Linked DNA regions of Homo sapiens: region 2 is linked to region 1. The links are contacts of gene promoters, found by promoter capture Hi-C in blood cells and fetal thymus (Javierre and others, 2016). All regions are on one chromosome and are shown on one strand. Each heading gives the region's core, a stretch centred on a gene start or on the middle of the fragment in contact. The rest is flanking DNA. Distances are from core to core; before and after follow the strand shown. Region 1 holds the start of APP (amyloid beta precursor protein). Region 2 has its middle 110 kb from the start of CYYR1.

Region 1 (4,210 bases), core at 432-2,931:
GCCTCCTCTGGCCCAACTGTCATGCAAACAACTTCTAAGCATCTTCAGATGTAAAGAAAAACAGTCATTGTGCACAGGCGTTAGCTGAATGTTCGAGAGTTGGATGAATGGGGAAGACTTGTTATACACCTAGTGGTGGGTGGATTTCACTAGGCTGCAGCCTCCACACAGCTTTTCTTTGCTGCACTGCAGAGGCGCCATCTTCTCCGTCTTAATCTTCACTCAATTCGATCCTTTTATCTGCACCCTAAAAAAAAGACCCTTCGGACCCTCCCCAGCATCCTGTGCCCCCAGGGGAACTAAACCAGAGTCCCCAGAGCTGCCAGGGAAGAGGCCGCGCCTTAATCAGACAAACGCCTCCTTGGATGCACAGGACAGAGCCCGTGCCTCCCCACCATCCGCCACTGCCCTTTCCAGACGCACATCCCACTCTCCGCCTTATTTCCTCCCCGCCAAGGACTTTACAGCCCAGCACAGAATTAAGCCTCGGAGGTGATCCGAGGGTGGGAAGCAGAGGGGCCCCGAGGCTCCGCCAGAAGCCCCGGCAGCGTCTCTGCCCCCTCCCAGGCGGACGCGCAGCCCCGGGAAGGGAGCCGGGCGGGAGCCTCGGTGGCGCACTGAGACTAACGCGGCTCGGCCCACGGCGAGGGCGGGGTGTCGCGGCTTTTGTTCCCGCGGACCTTCTGCCTCTCAGACAGAGCTTAGGGTGCGAGCGAACTCCCGGGACGTCCAGACTTGGGGAAGGCGCGGGGTGGCTATGGGTCTCCGACCCCTCCCATTTCTCGCAAGTTACACAAAAGGGAGACGCGGACATGCACAAAGTTTGCCTGTGGAAGGCGGTGCGCGACCCCGACGCCGGCTCGGGCTAGGGTCGCACCCAGGCTGCCGCCGCCAGCAGCCGCGAAAAGAGGTTGGAGCAAGGAAGGGGGATGGGGGTGAGAGAGGAAGGTGAAACGAGGCGGAGAACGCAGGGAAAAGCGAGGGGCTCCTAGCTTCCTGGGCTGTCCCGACTCCTCCTCCTCCTCCCCAGGGCCCAAGAGAAAGGAAAGGGCAACGATTCAAGAGCGAAGGACTGGCTTTAGGGACGCTGCGTTTTCGGTTTTCCCCACGTGCTCCTTCCCCCTTCCCCCCTGTCTGAATGTCTCTCGCCTCCCCCGACCCCCGCTTCCAAGGCAGGGACTAAGTCGGGGTCTGGGCTCAGGGTCGCCCCCTACCCTTCTCGCCCCGGGCTGGCGCGGAACCAGGGAGACCAGCGCCTCGCCCGCTCCCTCTCAGCGGGCCGGAGCGCGACTCCCTGGGGCAGGGCTGGGCCGAAAGCGGGGATGCGCTGGACGTCCGCAAGCGGGGGCGGAGAGGAGAGGGGTCCCATTGACGGACCCCCGGCTTCTCTGCATTAAAGACTTGGGTTAAGGTCTTGGGGGGTATCGCGTCCCCACCGTGCAGCCTCCCCCCGCCTTCCGAGGCGCGGCACCCACCTCCAGCGCCCGAGCCGTCCAGGCGGCCAGCAGGAGCAGTGCCAAACCGGGCAGCATCGCGACCCTGCGCGGGGCACCGAGTGCGCTGCTGTGCGAGTGGGATCCGCCGCGTCCTTGCTCTGCCCGCGCCGCCACCGCCGCCGTCTCCCGGGGCCCCCGCGCACGCTCCTCCGCGTGCTCTCGCCTACCGCTGCCGAGGAAACTGACGGAGCCCGAGCGCGGCGGCGGGGCTCAGAGCCAGGCGAGTCAGCTGATCCGGCCCACCCCGCTCGGCACCCGAGAGAGACCCCTAGCGGCGCCGCCGGGGAACTGCGCCCGCTCGCGCCGGGAGGGGCCCTCGCGCCCCGCGCCCACAGGTGCACGCGCCCTTGGCGCCGCCTGCACCCCACGCGCCCCCTCCGCTCCCCGGCCGACGGCCCACCTGGGCTTCGTGAACAGTGGGAGGGAGAGTCTGGGGCCAGGAGAGGGACGGTGCAGGATCAGGGAAAGGTGAGTCCTAGGACGCTGAGGCTCTAGAAAAGTCGAGAGCGCTCCTGCTCGTCCCCGTGAGCTTGAATCATCCGACCCCGCAGGCCTCCCGGGGGTGTCGTATAAAGGACTGCTGCTAGGGTGCGTTTTTATCCGCATTTCGTTTTTTCTCTCGGTTTGGAGAGGTGGGGCAGGCGTTTCTGGAAGAGAATGAGAACGAGTGAAGCTTAAAGGAAATAGGATTTTCTTTGCTTGTTGAGACAGCAAAACCTCATTTTTTAACCCCCAACGTCAAAAGCAGGCACGAGCAACCTGGAATTTCTATCTTTAGAACGAACCAAAGGAGCAAGGCGCAGGACCTGGCAAAGAAGCGGCCAACCCATTTACTTCTTCTTGAAAGCAGGGTTCTGGGCTTGGGTTTTGTTTCTTTCTTATATTTTTGTTTGTTTTTGGTTTTGTTTTGTTAAAGGGGGTGGTCAGTGTGGATTTTGCGGGGCGGGGGGTCTTTTTTTGTTGTTAAGCAGGGATGTAACATCCATCTGAGTTGGGGAAGAAGGAAAAATTAGGAGAGATCATTCGTATTCGACCCCCGTAAATGAGGACTTCTGACCTCAAACGCTGCCCTTGTTCTTCATTGTGTCTGTCCTGAATTATAGAAATGAACCTTCTGCCATGCCACTTTCTCCTGGATTAAACACAAACCGTCCACTGTCCAGTTAGTGTCCAGATAGTTTAGAATGCTCTAGAACTGCCCAGATATATCCCCTGCTCTTGACCTGAAGTAGCATTTAGTTACCAAGCCACAGCCCACTCCACACAGGGCTTGGAGCGAAGGACTGAAGCCAGGGAGTGCTCTGGCCCTTCTGAGGGCTGCACTGCAGCCTGCCTTCTCTCCCTTGCTCATTGCGCTGACAAGGGTGCCTAGGCCCGGGAAGGATGGCTCAGCCAGCGGGGTACAGACTTCCTTCCTGGGAAGTCATTTCTGTACCAGCTCCCCTAAATGTTGTCTTGTGTGTCTTTTCCCGCACTAGGCATTCAGTCTTGACTCTTGGATTACTTTTGCCCCTGAATGTCCTTTGGATGTCCTCAACAAATAAGGACAAATATTTATTGTCATGCAGTATTTGTTTATACGCTTCATGTCATTTACTTCCTACAAAAGCCAAAGAGGCTGTTACTATTATTCCTATTTATACATCAGGAAAATGAAGCTAATGAACTCCCAAATCTAATAGCAAGTAAGTGACATGAAGCTGGGACAGCAGGGAAAAGCCTAAAGTGACAGGACAAACCCAGTTGTTCACTTTCTGCACCACATTTACCCACCGCAATTCCGTATTTGTTCCGGGTCTGCATGAGCAAATAAGGCAAAAAAGAAGGTATCTGAATGCAAAGAGAAACGTGGTCCAAAGCTACAAATCTTGCAGAGTCCACTGCAAAATGCAAACGTGAGACCCTTTGTTACATTATTAAGAATTTTAAGGCCGGGCCTGGTGGCTCATGCCTGTAATCCCAGCACTTTAGGAGGCCCAGGTGGGCAGATCACCTGAGGTCAGGAGTTCTAGACCAGCCTGGCCAACATGGTGAAACCCCCATCTCTACTAAAAATGCAAAAATTAGCCGAGCGTGGTTACTCCTGCCTGTAATCCCAGCTACTCCAGAGGCTGAGGCAGGAGAATCGCTTGAACCTGGGAGGCGGAGGTTGCAGTGAGCCAAGATTGTGCCATTGCACTCCAGCCTGGGCGACAGAGCGAGACTCCACCTCAAAAAAAAGAAAAAAAATTAAATTAAGAATTTTAAGATGGCAATGGCAGAGCGTTAAACCAAGCATGGGGCTCCTCCCACCGCAGGGCCTGTGAGACTCTCCAGGGTTGCATGCCCATGAAGCCAGCCCTGGGAAGGAGGAGGCAACTTTAAGAGTGAGGGACTTTTCTTTGGGAGGCTGAGGCGGGCGGATCACGAGGTCAGGAGATCAACACCATCCTGGCTAACACGGTGAAACCCCGTCTCTACTAAAAATACAAAAAATTAGCCGGGCGTCGTGGCGGGCGCCTGTAGTCCCAGCTACTGGGGAGGCTGAGGCAGGAGAATGGCGTGAACCCGGGAGGCTGAGCTTGAAGTGAGCCGAGATCGCGCCACTGCACTCCAGCCTGGGCGACAGAGCGAGACTCCGTCTCAAAAAAAAAAAAAGAGAGTAAGGAACTTTTATTGAGCATGAAATTCAAAATTGTAGAGATGAGATCATAATCTATAAAAATTAAAGTTCT
Region 2 (4,114 bases), core at 1,394-3,893, 520 kb after region 1:
ATATACATTTATATGTATATATTCTGTTCTCTCTTGAACTGCTTTTAACATCTTACTGATTGTCTCAGCCATTAATTCCCTCACTTTAATCCTTGTTCATTTCATATTTGAACAAGAATCATAATTTTGCCTTTTTGAAAATTTAACATTAGCAGCAGGATAGATTGTCTGGGGAAGAAGTTTGTAAGTCTAGAGATCAATCAAGACTGTTTTAAGGAATTCTATCCCTCAGTACTCAAAGTAGGAAGTTGAGGTCCTACATTTGGGTAACCAGCATATTTTGGAAAATAATGGAAAACCTGAGACGTTTTGAAAGCAAAACCAGAACAGAATTTTTTTTGGGTGTATATATAGACAAGTCAGAGGTAAAGTTGTAGCTCGTAAGCCACTCGAGGGAAAGCAAAGATCTGGGCCACCCTTGATCTTTTTTCTAAGACATGATCTAATATTTTATGAAATGTATCCCCAGGAGGCTTAGGTGACTTGCTTCATTCTCTCCTCTGGGAGTGTTCCTTGCATCATATTGTGCCAGGGAGTTGCTGCCAGGTCTTAGAAGTTGCTTGGATAGTTTACAAATGGGGAAGTACATATTGATAAAGCTGGAAAAAACCTTGGGGAAAAAAAAACAAGTGAAAATACCTCAGCAACAACATACTGTTAAAAATTTCTATTTACCTCTTGTCAACAAATACATCTTTAAATACACAAACATTTTTAAACATTTAAATACAAATACTTTTAAACATATTACTGTGATGGGAAGAATGTAAGCAACCTGTGTTCAATGAAAATAAAAAGTGATGTAATTTATGACATTCATTCAATGGAGTATTATTTATTCATGAAAAAGTATGCTTGTGAAATTGGTATTTTAACAGTCATTTATGGTATGATTTATATGGCAGATTACTAAATTGCAAATAAAATTTGACTTCAACTAAGTAAAACAGACAAACAAAAATATGTATCTGCTGATTGAGACTCCAATGTTGGCCCCAGAAATTTGTATTTATGAATTTCTTTCAGATAATTCTGTTCAGCAACAAGATTTGGGGATCATTATTCAAATTCAACAGATTCTGATTCACAATAATTTATTTAGCAATCTGCTGTCTTCCTGCCTACTGATACATTTATCATTTCAGAAGAGAGAGCAACTTGCATGATTTTAATAGGGTAAATTTTTGGGAAATTTTGATTTCTTAGAAATTTATTCAGTAAATATGATCGAGCATCTACTATGTGTGAGACATGATCACAGAGGCACTGAGGATACATCAACAAACTCCAAACTTGGTAAACATAATAAGTAATATTCACCCTTTATTTAAACTGAGTCACTAGAATGTAAATTACTATACGTACATTCCAGTGGCTTAAATTCTAATGACTCAATGTAAATACATGAAGAGAGAACTTTACATGTTAATGTCCCTTATCTAAAGGAATAACGTGTATGTATGACAGAGTAGCTTCTCTACATTCTTGCCCAAGCATAGCAGCTTTAGCAAACGTGTACATAAGGCTGCCTATGTATCCAGCACTATTCTAAGCATTTCATATGCATCAGGATAGTTAATCACATTTTATTATAGTAGAGTAAAAGATGACAGGATAGTATATTCTGTCTTTACCAGCCCCTCACCCAACACTCAGCTGCTCACTCACTCACGGACAAGAATGCCTGAGGAAGCCCTGGTCATTTCACTCAACATTCCCTCTACTTTGACTGTGCTGGGAAGTCTTTACCTCTTTTCCACTATCAGCAATCCCCCCTCTTTCTTTCCAATTTTCTTCTTTTCCAGTCAACGACTACATGCCCACTAAAGGAGGGCTCTAAGAAGTGGTCCTCCACCTGCAATATCTCATATAAAATCTGCTGTAGGTCTATGATGGAGGAATTCATACAGTGTTTAAAGATAAGAAATACAAAGCTTAGAATGCTGAAAGGTTCATAACTAGCTTCAAACTCTGTATTATGGTTAATTTCCATGTGTGATTTACAAGTGATACTAATATGCTCTTGATTTGTTTTCTAAAATTAGGATCTTAAGAACCACTGGGTTGGTGAAAGAAGTATTGGATGAATCTGTGTTTTCCAAATTCAACCAACTTGGACAAACATAGTAGATGCAAGTTATTAGTAAGGTTCTAGTTATCTGCTTGGATAAAAGCCTCATGAGTGTTCATTATCTTGTTATGCTTTATAACAGACATATGTTACTCTATTATATATATGTTATCTATAAGATATATATAATGTTATATATAATATCAATTAAATTAAAATAGATCAAAAAAAGGAAAACAATAATACAAATATGCCCATTTAAAAATCTGGATAGAATAAACAACACAATTGAATGATAACCTTAGCATATTATATTTGAAAATATACAAATTCTAAGCTACAGTTTATCCCTTCCTCATTTCTTAGATCACTGCGGTTGGAACACTAGTTTTTTAGTAGAACTTATATTTCTATCATCGTAAGTTTTGGTTGCATAAGGTTATTAATAGTTAAACAGGTTTCTTTGCTGCTTGATATATTTATTATTTAAGGTGCAGGTTTAGCTAAGCTGCAAAACTATAGTGGCTTAAATAAGATATAAATGTATTTCTCTTGCATATTTGGTCCAGTGTTGGGCAGAATATCTAGGGCAGGTAGGAGGCTCTAGATTTCATCTCTGAGTATAAGTAGCTCCTAAATTGTTACTTCTTCCTGACTTCAGAATGTGAAGTGAAAGTAAGCAGCTTCCTTTCCAAAGAAGTGATTCGCAGGTGCACATGTCACTTCCTCTCATGCCCCATTAGCCACGTGACCACAACCAGATGCAAGGAAGGCTGGGAATTGTAGTTGCTAGATGGGGCAGTAGGAGTGAGGAGGGACCCCAGGGATTCTACGATTACAATGAGGGAGGAAAAAAAATGGATATTGGGCAGATAATATTGAATCCTGAAAAACAAACTCTAAATATGGAAAAAGTGAAGCATCCTTTAAGTCCTTTAATGTAGATGTAGAATCTGCTCTTCAGTGGTCCTAATAAAGCAGGGCTTTGTATTTCATCGTCCTTTTCATTCATAAAAGATACTCATTTTTGGTGTGTGTTTGTGTGTGTGCATGTTTGCGCACGCGTGCATGTTCATGTGTGCTATCAATGGCTTTAATTTGATTGAAGATAAAATTAATACTAGGAACTGAAATACTTTCGAGATAGGCTGTGCACAGTATGACGTCACCACTTTAGCTGTCTTATCAAATTCAGAGCATACAATTCATGTAATCCTTGTTTCCCTTCCACATTGACCAAGGTAAGATAATTCCAAACATAGCTTAAAGAAATGTCTTATACTAAGCTTCAGAAAATATCAGAAAGTTGCATTATCAGCAATGCTAATGTAGCAAAAAGCAGGTGGGCTCATGCCAATGTTCTCCTGAGAGATGGTTATGGAAGTAGATTGTGGTAATTAATGAGTGAGCAGTTGAAGAGTAATAAAAAAGAAAAAGTTTAATTAGGAGTAAATGGTAAGGGAGTTTAAGCATTGGAGGAATAATATTAACATTGTGGGAAGTAGATTGAATTATGTTTAAGATCCAAAAATATTTGAAGCTATCATCTTATTTCCCTCTTTATGTCACGCCTAAGTAGGAATCTATATGAAGCTACTTTTACATCATACAGTTTGTTTATTCCTTTATTATTAGTGAATTGCTTTAGACTAACTCTATCATACTTCCAATTTTGTTATCTACATGATTTCATTGTCCTTTGATATAAATCTACTTTTCCTAGCTTGTGAGCAAAATTTAGCTAACATAAAATCTTATTTATGTATTTATTTAATTAATTAATTTATTTTTTTGAGACAGAGTCTTGCCCTGTTGCCCAGGCTGGAGTGCAATGGCATGATCTCAGCTCATTGCAGCTTCTGCCTCCCCGGTTCAAGTGATTCTCACCTCAGCACCCCTGCCGAGCAGCTGGAATTATAGGTACATGCCATCACGCCTGGATAATTTTTGTATTTTTAGTAGAGAGGGGGTTTCACCATGTTAGCCAGGTTGGCCCCGAACTCCTGAACTCAAGTGATCCTCCTGCCTGAGCCTCCCAAACAG

The links. The method cuts DNA at HindIII sites, captures the fragments that hold promoters and counts their contacts. A CHiCAGO score of 5 or more calls a contact.
Region 2: a fragment that was not itself captured here is called in contact with the fragment with the promoter of APP in region 1 in 4 of 17 cell types (total B cells, fetal thymus, naive CD4 T cells and 1 more); the score reaches 9.2 in total B cells.

Annotation. Positions count from the first base shown.
Region 1 is chr21:26,169,089-26,173,298 of GRCh38, forward strand. APP (amyloid beta precursor protein) reads right to left here and starts at 1,682. Exons shown (of 18, transcript NM_000484.4): 1 at 1,476-1,682. The coding sequence starts at 1,532. APP-DT (APP divergent transcript) reads left to right here and starts at 1,779. Exons shown (of 4, transcript NR_186396.1): 1 at 1,779-1,964. RefSeq lists enhancers at 185-394, 893-1,417 and silencers at 435-704, 1,205-2,034. The HindIII fragment of the contact is 2,642 bases long and covers 1-2,167 here.
Region 2 is chr21:26,683,670-26,687,783 of GRCh38, forward strand. No RefSeq gene overlaps it. Among named protein-coding and RNA genes, the nearest start is that of CYYR1, 110 kb to the left of the region's middle. The HindIII fragment of the contact is 1,423 bases long and covers 1,933-3,355 here.